Linked DNA regions of Homo sapiens: regions 1, 2, 3 and 4 are each linked to region 5. Evidence: promoter capture Hi-C in 16 types of primary human blood cells and fetal thymus (Javierre and others, 2016). All regions are on one chromosome and are shown on one strand. Each heading gives the region's core, a stretch centred on a gene start or on the middle of the fragment in contact. The rest is flanking DNA. Distances are from core to core; before and after follow the strand shown. Region 1 overlaps ZMAT3 (zinc finger matrin-type 3). Region 2 has its middle 58 kb from the start of ZMAT3. Region 3 has its middle 9.6 kb from the start of ZMAT3. Region 4 overlaps ZMAT3 (zinc finger matrin-type 3). Region 5 holds the start of MRPL47 (mitochondrial ribosomal protein L47).

What was found. The method cuts DNA at HindIII sites, captures the fragments that hold promoters and counts their contacts. A CHiCAGO score of 5 or more calls a contact.
Region 1: a fragment that was not itself captured here is called in contact with the fragment with the promoter of MRPL47 in region 5 in 1 of 17 cell types (non-activated CD4 T cells); the score reaches 5.1 in non-activated CD4 T cells.
Region 2: a fragment that was not itself captured here is called in contact with the fragment with the promoter of MRPL47 in region 5 in 7 of 17 cell types (fetal thymus, non-activated CD4 T cells, total CD8 T cells and 4 more); the score reaches 9.4 in fetal thymus.
Region 3: a contact is called between a fragment that was not itself captured here and the fragment with the promoter of MRPL47 in region 5, in 1 of 17 cell types (activated CD4 T cells). The highest score is 5.3, in activated CD4 T cells.
Region 4: a fragment that was not itself captured here is called in contact with the fragment with the promoter of MRPL47 in region 5 in 3 of 17 cell types (activated CD4 T cells, fetal thymus and non-activated CD4 T cells); the score reaches 6.6 in activated CD4 T cells.

Annotation. Positions count from the first base shown.
Region 1 is chr3:179,062,511-179,065,210 of GRCh38, forward strand. All of the region lies in intron 2 of ZMAT3 (zinc finger matrin-type 3), which reads right to left. Among named protein-coding and RNA genes, the nearest start is that of ZMAT3, 7.9 kb to the right of the region's middle. The HindIII fragment of the contact is 6,023 bases long and covers 1-2,700 here.
Region 2 is chr3:179,012,248-179,014,947 of GRCh38, forward strand. No RefSeq gene overlaps it. Among named protein-coding and RNA genes, the nearest start is that of ZMAT3, 58 kb to the right of the region's middle. The HindIII fragment of the contact is 730 bases long and covers 886-1,615 here.
Region 3 is chr3:179,080,084-179,082,783 of GRCh38, forward strand. No RefSeq gene overlaps it. Among named protein-coding and RNA genes, the nearest start is that of ZMAT3, 9.6 kb to the left of the region's middle. The HindIII fragment of the contact is 2,260 bases long and covers 247-2,506 here.
Region 4 is chr3:179,032,242-179,034,941 of GRCh38, forward strand. The region is part of intron 2 of ZMAT3 (zinc finger matrin-type 3); the gene reads right to left. Among named protein-coding and RNA genes, the nearest start is that of ZMAT3, 38 kb to the right of the region's middle. The HindIII fragment of the contact is 8,661 bases long and covers 1-2,700 here.
Region 5 is chr3:179,603,387-179,606,086 of GRCh38, forward strand. It overlaps MRPL47 (mitochondrial ribosomal protein L47), which reads right to left and starts at 1,252. Exons shown (of 7, transcript NM_020409.3): 1 at 1,141-1,252. The coding sequence starts at 1,238. NDUFB5 (NADH:ubiquinone oxidoreductase subunit B5) reads left to right here and starts at 1,408. Exons shown (of 6, transcript NM_002492.4): 1 at 1,408-1,553. The coding sequence starts at 1,430. RefSeq lists enhancers at 542-1,408, 1,334-1,533, 1,409-2,275, 1,714-1,873, 1,904-1,993. The HindIII fragment of the contact is 8,643 bases long and covers 1-1,852 here.

The DNA.
Region 1 (2,700 bases), core at 63-2,562, 540 kb before region 5:
TAGGGGTAGACTAGAGGAGGAGGCAAAAAACTGGCAGGATCACAGAGAGCTTCTGTCCTCTAAAGTGATCAAAGCAAGAGCTAGAAAAGCCTACAGAGCTGGCGATTTCAGAGAGCAGAACAAGAAAACCAACAAGGATTGATTATTGGGTAAATGGACTAAGCTGACAGACGAGTAGTATGGTTGAAAGCATATTTACATTTGAAAATCATTTTATTTTGCCTCATTTGTTGGTTGAATTATTCTTCATGAGAATCTTTTAAGGTAACCTGGTATCTGGATCTAAAAGACTATCTCGGGAGAACAATCAAGGAAAACAAAGTTTTGCTTATTTACACAAGGTCCTACAGCAAGTTACTATCAAGGTAGTAACAACAGTAAGACAGCTGTGTGCCATCTCATTCTGCTCATTTGAGACCCAAACACTTCTAAACAATAGCAACCTATTTCAATCAACCAGCATTTATTAAGATAACATATGCAAGTCTCACAATCCTGCAGAGGAAGTACAATGACCCCTACTTTACAGATATTGAATAAAGAGAGATTCAGTGTCTTGCCTAAAGTAACTGAGCCAAGATCCTAGCCCAAAGTTGTTAGATTCCAAAGCATATATGCCACGTGTAAAGCACATGCATTAAAACCAAATCTGAAGTGTGTTTTGGCCATTCTCAGTCCACTGCAAGTCCATTTGGAAAAAAATCAGATAGGAGAATTTTGAATACATGAAAATTAGCTGAGATTTAATTCAGTGATCCAAACCTGGGTGATCAATATTAAAATGTAAGTGCCAAAATCAGTGCTTTAAATTTTGGGAAAAATCTAATAGCATTCTCTTCATTATGAATTATGAATTAAGACCACTACACTCAGCATCCTAATTCTAAAACTATTCTTTCACCTGTGTTCTCTTTCTCTAATCAATCTAATTCATGGTAGGTTGCTATCTGGCCACTAACTATTACAAATAGAAAGCCATGTTTATGACAAATTTTATAAATGTACTTTGAGTAAGTAGATCTTTTTAAATATATACATGCAAATTAGCAAATAAACTGGTGACTTTAAACTGTGGATGCCTTAGCAAAATTCATCCGTGCTTTTTGCTTTTCTTTATTTCTGTTAATAACCTTCCCTGCTAAAGCAATTCTTCCTCTGGGCATTTATGCTGATGAAACAGTGGTATGTTACCCCATGCCAGCCTTGCCCTAAGTAACCTGAAGCCTGCAGATAGACTTTAATAAAATGAAAATATGTTTCTCCTCCAAAGATTGGATTTTAAATTAAGTTATATCCAAAGCCCTAATTTTAAGAATATAATATTTGATGGCTTCATTAAAAATAAAACAATAGCTAATGATGTTTTGAAGCCAACTGACCAGTTTTTAAAAGTCCTTGGAATAAAACTAAATCTGTGATGACTACAGATACACATGGGTCACTGCTAAGGTAGCCCCAGCTTGGGAACACTGGGATGTCAGGAAAAAATGCTAGTGAGCTTAAAGGGAAGTATTTATTGGGCAGTTTCCACTGCGTGTCCTGGATTACTGGCACATGATACAGTCCGGCTCTAGTGTAACCACCATTGTTTACAATACCCGAGGCAATTTGAAACTCCACGATTTCAACAATGGCATCAACTGACTAAAAAGTTTTGAGTAATGTAATCACAGTGATTTATCACTTCACACAAATGTGTTTCTAGCTCATAAACAGGCTACCCGTGACCCATTTTATCTCACACATAACTGAAATAATGAAGGTACAGCTTGGTAATGCTCTGTATTAAAAATTAGTAAGTTTTTAGTCTTGAAATAAAATTTTACATCCATCATCTCATTTAATCCTAAACCACTTTATTAGTCTACAATCATTGGCATTCTACTTATTCCTGTGCTTGGTAAGCCTTACTCATTGGTCTTATCCTTCTCTTTTTTGTGTGTTTTTTGTTGTTGTCTTTGTTTGCTGGAGTGCAGTGGCATGATTATAGCTCACTGCTGCCTCAATCTCCCAGGCTCAAGTGAGCCTCCTGTCTCAGCCTCACGAGTAGCTGGGACTACAAGTGTCTGCCACTATGCCCAGCTAATTTCCTTGTATTTTTGTAGAGACAGGGTCTTGTTATGCTGTCCATGCTGGTCTTGAACTCCTGAACGCAAACTATCTTCCCGCCTCAGCCTCCCAAAGTGCTAGAATTACAGGTGTGAGGCACCACACCTGGCCTGGTCTTAGCCTTGTCTTCAGTAATCTTTCTTTTATTACTGCTTATTCATGTACACCCTCTGATGCATCTTTTTGGCTAACATTTCTACGCTTTCCTTCTTTGGTAGCTCACCCACTTCTAGAGTTATGTTCACACTCTGTTTATTATTCTGATCTACACTTTGCACTATCCACTCTCATCTTGACCATTTCTATCTTATTGAAATCCAGATTTCACTTCTAAGATTACCTTTCTTCTATGTTACCCTAACATAATTGCTCTGTATTTTTACACATGAACTGCTTTGCCTTAGTTGTCTGTTAAAACCTTCTCTCTTTAAGAGTTACCAATAACATCAGTCTCATTCGAATCTTTGCTTCTGAAGTCTTAGCAATATACTTTATTATACCCAAACTTTTCATTTTCTGTAAGCTCCTACTTTCTGATTACTTGCTTGCCTCTTTTCTTTCCCATCTTTACCCTGGTTTTTAGCTGCTTAA
Region 2 (2,700 bases), core at 1-2,500, 590 kb before region 5:
AGTGTTGAGATTACAGGCATGAGCCACTGCGCCCAAACATTAATAAGCGAAACGTTCTAAAGTTTCAAGTGGGGGACTAAAGGAAACTAAGAAATGTTTCACTCCAAAATATACTTCTTTGACATATTTTGAGATGACTATTCAGAGGGCCTGCAACACAAGAATCAGCCTGCAAAGCTGAGTCTTTTACGGGGATTTGCATCTCTAGAGGAAATAAAGTGAAGTAAACAACAGATGCAAACAGGCTTTTTCTGAAGCCCCACCTTGTCCAGAACAAGGCAAGATTAACTGAGAGCCTGACACCTTTAAAGGTTTTATAGAAACATCTACCACAGGCTCCCATCTCTTTTTTTTTTTTTTTTTTTTTTTTGAGATGGAGTCTTGCTCTGTCGCCCAGGCTAGAGTGCAGTGGTGTGCTCTCAGCTCACTGCAACCTCCGCCTCCCGGGTTCAAGCTATTCTCCTGCCTCAGCCTCCCAAGTAGCTGGGACTATAAGCACCCGCTACCACACCCAGCTAATTTTGTATTTTTAGTAGAGACGGGGTTTCACCATGTTGTCCAGGCTGGTCTCGAACTCCTGACCTCAGGTGATCCACTTGCCTTGGTCTCCCAAAGTGCTGGGATTACAGGCATGAGCCACCGTACCTGGCCTCCCATTTTTCCTTTCTGAGGGCTGCTACCTGTGAGATCATCTGCATAACAAGACCACCTTTGCAGCACACCTTGCCTCTTCTCTCCTTCCCATAACCTCTCATGCCACCATAACCTGTCTTGACAAGCTTCAAGCCCCTATTCTTTCTGTAACCTCAAGATAGTATTAAAGAGTTGTGAATGGAAAATAAAATTTTGGGACCCCCTATTCACCATACCTAAGGGAAAAAGTCAAGCTTGAGAACTGAGTCACACAAAACTGCCTCCCATTTTGTTCCTCAACAGCTACAAAGATGAAAGACTACCTACATACCTCCCTCGCAATTTGCTCACGAGCAAATTTTTTGTGGGCCCTCAAGATCCTTACCCTAAAACAGTTCTGTTGAATTTCACCCTGACAATAACAAACAATTTATCTTCAGAAGAACGGGACAAAGGATAGAACCAGAAGTCATACCTCTGCTCACCTGAGACAAATGCATATTTGACTGCTTCCTCTATTCTGTTTACTTATCTTATGTAAAAACGTAGATTCACTGAGCATGAGACAAATGCCTCTACCCTCTCCTTTCACATGTAAAATGTGGATCCACTGAACGCTGATGAAATCTTCAAAAGATTGCAACTTCTTGCCTCTTTCATCTACACTTCTTTTCTCTCCTGCCCATGTTTTCCCCTTTAAATATGGAAGCACTCAAAATCCTCTTTGGAAAAAAAGTGTGGGCCACAGATTCTATTGTGGCTAGTGGCTTTTTTTCCTGGGTGTATCATCAACCTTGGCAAAATAACTCTCAGTTGATTGAGATCTGTCTCAGATACTTTTTGGTTTACAGCATCAGCTGTCTGGACATTTGAGTTTTTCATATTTTGTATGACTCCCATGCCCATATGTACATTAATAAATCTGTATGCCTTTTTTCCTGTTAATCCATGGTCAGTTTGTTTTACAGACTCAAATTATCAAAGCTTCAGTGAAAAAAATTAAACTTTTATACACTTTGCATATATAAAATAATTTATAATTTTCCAAGTCTTCAGCTATGTACACCTATGGTCACAGTAGCATTATTCACAATAGCTAAAAGGTAGAAGCAACGTAAGTGTCCATCAGTGGATGAATAAACAAAATGTCATCGATACATGCAATGGGATATTATTCAGCCTTAAAAAGGAAGGAAAGTTGATAAATGCTTGAGGTGATAAGATACCCCAATTACCCTGATTTGATCATTACACATTGAATGTTTGTATCAAAATGACACATGTACCCCATAAATACGTACAATATTATATATCCCTAATTAAAAATAATTTTTAAAAATGAAGGAAATTCTGATACATACTACGACATGGATGAACCTTGAGGACATTATGCCAAGTGAAATACGCCAGACACAAAAGGACAATTGTCATATGATTCCACTTATATGAGGTACCTCAAGTAGTCAAAATCATAGAGACAGAAAGTAGAATGGTGGTTACCAGGGACTGGGGAAGAGAGAATGTGGAGTTATTGTTTAATGAGTAAAATTTCCGTTTGGGAAGATAAAAAATTTCTGGAGATGGAGAGTGATTATGATTGTAAACTAAATGGTTAAAATGGTAAATTTTATATGTTTTGCTATTTTTAAGGGTTTAATTTTTTTAAATTATTATTACATAAATGTCCATCAATAGAGGATCAATAACAGAAATTTTAGAAATCATACAAGGAAACACCACAGAATGAAAAACAATGAAATAGATCCACATGTGCTGGTATGGAATGCTTGCCAAGGTCACACACACACACACACACATACACACACACACACATACCCCAAGGTGATGAACAGAACAGTAGGGATGGAATGCCTCCATTCACGTTACATAGACTTTATCTGGAAAAGACTCAAGAAACTGCTAACCGCGATCAATTGCCGCTGGGCAGGGGGGACATGGCAGCATGGAGTTCAGGAGTGAGTTCAGGACTTATGTATTTCGAAAAAAAAAAACAATTCTTTTTGAAAACAGCAATCTTCTAAATTATCCATAGTACTGAAAGAGAGG
Region 3 (2,700 bases), core at 127-2,626, 520 kb before region 5:
TGTGAAGACGAACTGCTTGCTCTTTTAGAGACCCTTGCCTCACTGAAACTGCCCTCTGGAGGGGCCCACATGGCATGTGACCTTAGAAGTAGATCGTCCAAGTTCCAGTCAAGCCTTTAGATGGCCGCCTCCTGACTTGACTGCAACCTCATGAGAGACCCTGAATCAGAACCATCCAATTAAATCAGTCCCAGAGACCTAACCACAGAGACCATGTGAGGTAATGAATGTTGTTATAAACTGCTAAGCTTAGGGTAATTTTGGGGTTTTTTGTTTTTTGGTTTTTTTTTGGTGGGGGGTTGTTTGTTTTTTGAGACGGTGTCTCGCTCTGTCACCTAGACTGGAGTGCGATGGAGCGATCTCGGCTCACTGCAACCTCCATCTCTGCCTCAGCAGAGGCAATTCCTCTGCCTCAGCCTCCCCAGTAGCTGGGATTACAGGCACCCGCCACCACTTCCAGCTAATTTTTTTGTATTTTTATTAGAGACAGGGTTTCACCATGTTGGCCAGACTGGTCTTGAACTCCTGACCTCGGGCAATCCACCCATCTCGGCCTCCCAAAGTGCTGGGATTACAGGCGTGAGCCACTGTGCCCAGCCAGCTTGGGGTAATTTTTTAGGCGGAGATTAATATAAGTCCCCCTACCTTTTTGTGACTCTTTAAACTATGTATACAGATTACTTCGTTAAAAATGTGTATCTCTCATTCCTAGTTTTTTGTTTGTTTTATTTTTACTTTCCTTGCTTAGTATTTGTTGTTTATACTTCTTGATTAACTTTAGAATCACATTGTCAAATTCCTCAACTTCCATTGCGATTTCAATTGAATTTTGTCAAATCTATACATACATTTGTGGATAAGTTAAAATTTTACACTATTCTCTTTCCTACCACTGTACAATGATTGAAGACTTTCATGCTCTTCACTAACATTTTGTGATTTTCTTCATTGTATGTACAATATTTAATGAAATTCTAAAAAAAAAAGCATTTTCTTTTATGTAATATTTCTGGCATAGAGAAAAATTACCAAAGTCTTGAATTATATTCAAGTGTTTAAAATACTTTATTGTCTACTTGTACTATTGCTAAAATTCTACACTCTTCCTTGTGGACAGGTCTATCAATATACAAGAGAGAAAATGAATATTTTTAATACAATAGCAATCACATTTCTTTTCTGTATCCTGTGAGTTATATGATTATCCAATTTAGGTCTTATGATCTGAAAGCAGTAGAAATAATTAGCAACTTTCCTAAAAACTGTATTCCTTTTCTGATCCAATATTCTTTTCCCTCTCTCAACCTACACAACTTCTCTGCTACTTCTAAAATTACTAGAGTTAACTTTTGTTTTAATTCTGTGTCTCTTATTCAAATTGGTTAGCTTTCATTGTTGCTTTGCCATTGACATCGCTAGTGTGAACTTAATTTTGTATACCCATTATGACAAAGAAAATCAAACCATATTTCCCTTTGACCTTTTACGCTTGCAGTCACAATACTATTTTGAGGAAATGCTTGTTCATTATGCATACATACATTCTTATCTGCATCATTTTGTGTATGTGTTTATCAGTGCTGTCCAACAACGAGAAGAATGATACATTTATTTAATGTTGGAATGTAAGGATACTACAGTAAGAGCCTACTATGCCAGGCACTATACCCTAGCTAGGTACTCTAGCCAGGGCTTTTATACCCTAGCTCATATCATCCTCATGTTGACCTAAAGAAAAAAATGATGCAAATTTAATATAAGTAGAGAGTTTAATTGGGGCAAGTTTGAGGATTGCAACCTGGGAGCAGAGATTCATGTTGCCCTGAATATATGTTCCAATTAGCAGCAGTTACAAGTAGGCTTATAAAGCAGAAGAGGCAGTTCCTAAGTTGTTTACCAAGAATTTACATTACAAAACATGAGAGCCAGTGAAGTGGCTCACATCTATAATCTCAGCTACTCGGGAGGCTGAAGTGGCAGAATCCCTTGAGGCCAAGAGTTTGAAAGCAGCCTGGGCAACATAGCAAGACACCATCTCTAAAAAAAAATTTTAAGCTGTTGTTTGACTATACATTGTTCTTTGTAACACAAATTCCAGAACATTGAGATAGTGAGTGAGGCAGCTAGTCAGGAACAAATGCCTTTAAATAACTGCCCCAGGCACAAGGGGGTTAGCGCATGAATGACTGAAGTCCCATATTCATGTTGTTCTTGGCCTAATAAGTTTTGTACACCTTGCATAGCTCAGACTGCTCTGAGATATTTTTCTTTTCTCAGTCACAATAATTCCAGTGAGGTAGATATTATTTTACTTATTTTAGAGATGATTCTGAAATGTTAGGTTACCGTTCAAAGTTATTCAGCTTACATCTCCCTGTACCTTTGTTTCTACTAGATCAGAGCTTCTCAGACTTGAACATGCATGCGAATCACCTGGCAATCTTTTTAAAGTACAGATAATGTCTCAGTAGTCTGACGTTGGGATTGTGATTCTGCATTTCTAACAAGCTTCCAGGTGATGTCACACTTTGAGTAGCAAAGCATAGATCACAGTGAATTTAAGGCAATGTGACTCATTGGAAGGATTACAAACTTTGGAATTTGAGCATCTGAATTCAAATTTGAATGCAGGTACTTAAGGCCTTCTGACTTAGCATGGAACTTCACTTCCCTAATCTAAAATGCAGAAAATAAGACCAG
Region 4 (2,700 bases), core at 81-2,580, 570 kb before region 5:
GATCTGCCAGCCTCGGCCTCCCGAGGTGCCGGGATTGCAGACAGAGTCTCGCTCACTCAGTGCTCAATGTTGCCCAGGCTGGACTGCAGTGGCGTGATCTCGGCTTGCTACAACCTCCACCTCCCAGCCGCCTGCCTTGGTCTCCCAAAGTGCCAACAGTGCAGCCTCTGCCCGGCCGCCACCCCGTCTAGGAAGTGAGGAGCGTCTCTGCCTGGCCGCCCATCGTCTGGGATGTGAGGAGCCCCTCTGCCCGGCCGCCCAGTCTGGGAAGTGAGGAGCGCCTCTTCCCGGCCATCATCCCGTCTGGGAAGTGAGGTGCGTCTCTGCCCGGCCACCCATCGTCTGGGATGTGGGGAGCACCTCTGCCCCGCCGCCCCGTCTGAGATGTGAAGAGCACCTCTGCCCGGCCGCGACCCCGTCTGGGAACTGAGGAGTGTGTCTGCCCCACCACCACCCCATCTGGGAGGTGAGGAGCGTCTCTGACCAGCCACCCTGTCTGAGAAGTGAGGAGCCCCTCTGCCCCGCAGCCGCCCCGTCTGGGAAGTGAGGAGCCCCTCCACCCAGCAGCCACCCCATCTGGGAAGTGAGGAGCGTCTCCGCCCGGCAGCCACCCCATCCAGGAGGTGGGGGGCAGCCCCCGCCCGGCCGCTACACCGTCTGGGAGGTGGGGGGGCGTCTCTGCCCGGCCGCCCCGTCTGGGAATTGAGGAGCCTCTCTGCCCGGCCGCCACCCCATCTGGGAGGTGTACCCAACAGCTCATTGAGAACGGGCCACGATGACGATGGCGGTTTTGTCGAATAGAAAAGGGGGAAGTGTGGGGAAAGGAAAGAGAGATCAGATTGTTACTGTGTCTGTGTAGAAAGAAGTAGACATAGGAGACTCCATTTTGTTCTGTACTAAGAAAAATTCTTCTGCCTTGGGCTGCTGTTAATCTATAACCTTACCCCCAACCCCGTGCTCTCTGAAACATGTGCTGTGTCCACTAAGGGTTAAATGGATTAAGGGCGGTGCAAGATGTGCTTTGTTAAACAGATGCTTGAAGGCAGCATACTCGTTAAGAGTCATCACCACTCCCTAATCTCAAGTACCCAGAGACACAAACACTGCGGAAGGCGGAAGGCGGCAGGGCCCTCTGCCTAGGAAAACCAGAGACCTCTGTTCACGTGTTTATCTGCTGACCTTCCCTCCACTATTGTCCTATGACCCTGCCAAATCCCCCTCTCCGAGAAACACCCAAGAATGATCAATAAATACTAAAAAAATTTTAAAAAAAAGGAAAGAAAGAAAAGAAAAGAAAAGAATATGGGATTTTAGGAAAAAAAAAAAAGAAGTATCACATTTTCCAGTGACTTATGTCCTCACCCAACTTCTTGCCATTTATATGCCACAGATAAATATGAATTTCATGACACTCTGATCTAATGTACTTTATAAGTTAGTAATGAAATGGATAATCCAATTATTCTTTTAAAATTGCCCTTACAGAGTATCTTTTTACTTACAAAGGATGTTCATTGCATTTATTCATTTGCTGCTCACAAAAATCTTGTAAGAGGAATTTGTTAATATTGTCCATTTATGACAGCCAAGGAACTGCAATCCAGAGACTGTAAGGAGCTTGCCCCCAGCTCCCTTCTCAAGGGCTAAATAGCACAGCCAAAGCCTGAGACAGGCCTTCCAAATCAAAGAATGGCCCTTTTCCACTACAGCATGATGGCTTCAAGATGCACTAGGAACCTCTACTAACATCAACTTGCCTTTCTCATCACGTTTTATTAGTCACATGATTATATTCCTTGAACTGACACAAACTAGTGGCAAGGGTCAATAGTACAAAAGCATTCTAAATAAGGGTAAAACAGTATATTATTCTTTAAACTGCATTGTAAAACTCAAACCTGCAGGCAAACATTTATTCACCATCTATTTATATGCTAAGCCCTAGAAATAAACTAAGGACTAGCACATAGAGGAGGAGACAGATACCTAAGCAGCTAAATAGAGTAATGAACTAAGATCCATCTTCTCCTCACTTCAATACCCTAAAGGTGCTTTTACCATGGTCACAGTGAACTCCAGAGTCAAATCCAGTGGTCACATATGTGCCTTCATCTTACTGGAACTCAAAGTAGCATGACACAGTTCATTTCCTTCTTGAAACATTCCTCCTACTATCATCTATACTCCTTCTTCCCTCCCCACCTCTCCTCCTCTATCAGACCTCTAAACTCTACAATGTCCAAGGACGCACCCTTAGCCCTCTTTTATTCTCTGACTCTAGGTTATTCTACCCAGACCTATAGCTTTCAAATACCATGAGTAAGTTGGTGACTCCCCAAATCATCAATCTCCATCTTTGACCTTCAGAACCACATATCCAGCTTCCTCCTGGTCATCCATACTTTCACGTCTTAAGAGGCATATCCAACTTAAAACAACTTTTGATTCCTCCTCCATAGAACTTTCTCATCACCACCATCACCACCACCACTAGTCATCCACAGTAGGTAAATGGCACCACCATCCACAAAATTACCCAAGAAAAGCCAAGGGGTCCTTTTCCTGATTCCATCCTTCCCTAAGCCCAACACATTCAACCCATCAGCAAGTCTTGTCATTCAAAATACATCCCACATCACTCCACTTCTCTCCATGGATACTACAAATACCACAGTAATCCAAGGTACCAACATTTTTCAT
Region 5 (2,700 bases), core at 2-2,501:
AATTAGCCAGGCATAGTAGCACGTGCCTTATAGTCCCAACTACTCGGGAGGCTGAGGTGGGAGGACGCTTTGAGCCTGGGAGGCAGAGGTTTCAGTGAGCTGAGATCACACCATTGCACTCCAGCCTGGGCGACAGAGTCAGTCCCTGTCTCAAAAAACAAAAACAAAAAAACCTCACAATTTTGCAACATGTATCAGGAGCCTCAAATACTTCCTCCTTTAATTCAGTAATTCTGCATCTAGAAGTTTCAACTGAAAAAATTATTATAGATGGGAATTTATAAATTAAGATGTTTATTAAAGCACTATATAGGATGTCAAGTTTTTAATTATGTAAATACGCAGCTAAGAATGGTTTAAAAATTACTGTGCATCTGGATGATAAATTATTATGCAGTAATTCAAAAATCCTGTTTTTAAAAAATAGTTAACGACCTGAGATGATTTGAAACTAAATAATGAAGTTTATCACAAGTGTTGTATCCCTACCAAAAATATTTAGCCTAAATCTTATAATGAGGAAACAATCAGACAAATCCAAATGAATAAGATTCTTAAAAAGCTAATCTCATCAAAATGTCAACAACATTAAGAAAAAAAAAAAAAAGAAATTGTTCCGGATAGAGACTAAAGAGTCATGGCAACCAATGTAATAAATGGATACTTCACTGGATCCAGGACCAAGAAAAATAAATAAATAAAAGAAGTTACTAAGTTACCAGTTACTTTCATTGTAACACATCCTGTAAATACAAATATCTCTTCTTTTTTAATCCATCCAAACTTGACACAGACTTGAGTATCACAACAAAAACATCTTCGGTAAAGTTTTTCGCACCTCACCCAGCCCAAGAGGATGCTTCTGTACTTATAGATGTATTTACTTCAACAAATGCTGGACATCTACAAACCCCATATACTGTCTTGTCCACAGCAGGCAGCAACAAAATGAGGAAGGAATAGAAATGTCGGAGGTGAGCGACTTCTCCAAGGTCACTCACTCCTCACCAAAGTGGGCTCCGGCTCTGCCATCCAGGCGGCCGTTCCATTCTTGAGTTGTTCTCGGCATCTCGGCATCTCGGCAACCAAACAAGATCCAAAGTTGGAGAGGTGGGCAAACCTACTTTATACATCACTTACCCTGTGCAGGCAGGGACCTGAGGAGTTATTAACGATCGGGAAGATTTCAGGGCGGATGAAACTCTCCTACAAAGAAGGGCCAAACCGGCCGCAGCCATGTTTTCGCATAACTGGCAAAACGCGTTTCCGCCAACGATAGCGTCACTTCCGGCGTCTCAAGCCGGCGGTGAGGAGAATAGAAAACTTGCCCTCACTTAAGATGGCCACATCCTGCCTTTGTCCTCATTGGTAAATTGGCTCTCTCAGCTTCCGTGACCCGCCTCCCTTCTTCCTCCTGCCCGTAGTAGCCATGGCGGCCATGAGTTTGTTGCGGCGGGTTTCGGTTACTGCGGTGGCAGCTCTGTCTGGCCGGCCCCTTGGCACTCGCCTCGGATTTGGGGGCTTCCTCACTCGTGGCTTTCCGAAGGCTGCTGGTGGGTGCTGGCCTAGGGAGAACGGGCGTGAAGCGGGTGCGGGGCGAGAAAAGGGAGGACGCTTCCAGGGTGACCTTGGTGGGATCCGGAGGGAGCCGGGACAAGTTGTGGGCTTGGGGCTTGACAGGAGAGACGGAGCACGAGCTATATGAGGGGTTTTCCTGAAGTAGCCAGATAGATCGTGTTTACATTATTAGCATTTCTAAAACGTTGTTATTCACCATCCCAATTAATGCTAATTTGCGGATGAAGCTGAGTCTAGAAAGGTATAGAGCTGAGATCTGTATCTCTAGGGCACAAGCTTATTGTTGCGTTCCACCTGCCCAAAGGCTAGGTTCTAGTCCCACAGATGCAAAGTCATCTTGCCGAGAAGCCCACCTATGCTAAGGAATATGAAGACAGGTAATATGTAGACAGGTAAAGAGGCTCAGGGCCAACTTATTCTTTAGGCACAGTAAGTACCGTGCCGCCCAATAATGAGATGCAGATGAACTGGGGAGGAAGAGAGGTTTTTGTTTTGTTTTGTTTTGTTTGTTTGTTTTTTGAGACAGAGTCTCACTCTGTTGCCCAGGCTGGAGTGCAGTGGCGCGATCTTGGCTCACTGCAACCTCCGCCTCCTGGGTTCAAGCGATTCTCCTGCCTGAACCCATGATAGTTTTAGGGGTCTACGAAAGTCTTTTAATTTAAATTTCTTTTTTAAAAAAACCATAATGTTTATGAATATGATAACGAATCCAGCCTGTATTATGTTCGTTTTATACCAATGCAGTCATAAAATATTATTTTTAATAACTTAGACGAAGGGGCCCTTGAAGGCAAAAGTGCCTAGGTCTCAGGAAAGTCATAATACAGTCTTTTTTTTTTTTTCTTTTGAGACAGTCTCACTCTGTCACCCAGGCTGGAGTGCAGTGGCACCATCTTGGCTCACTGCAATCTCCACCCCCCGGGTTCAAGCGATTCTCCCGCCTCAGCCTCCCCAGTAGCTGAGGCTACAGGTGCACACCACCACGCCTGGCTAATTTTTGTATATTTAGTAGAGATGGGGTTTCACCATGTTGGCCAGGCTGGTCTCGAACTCCTCACCTCAAATGATCCGCCCACCTCAGCCTCCCAAAGTGCTGGGATTATAGGCGTAAGCCACTGCACC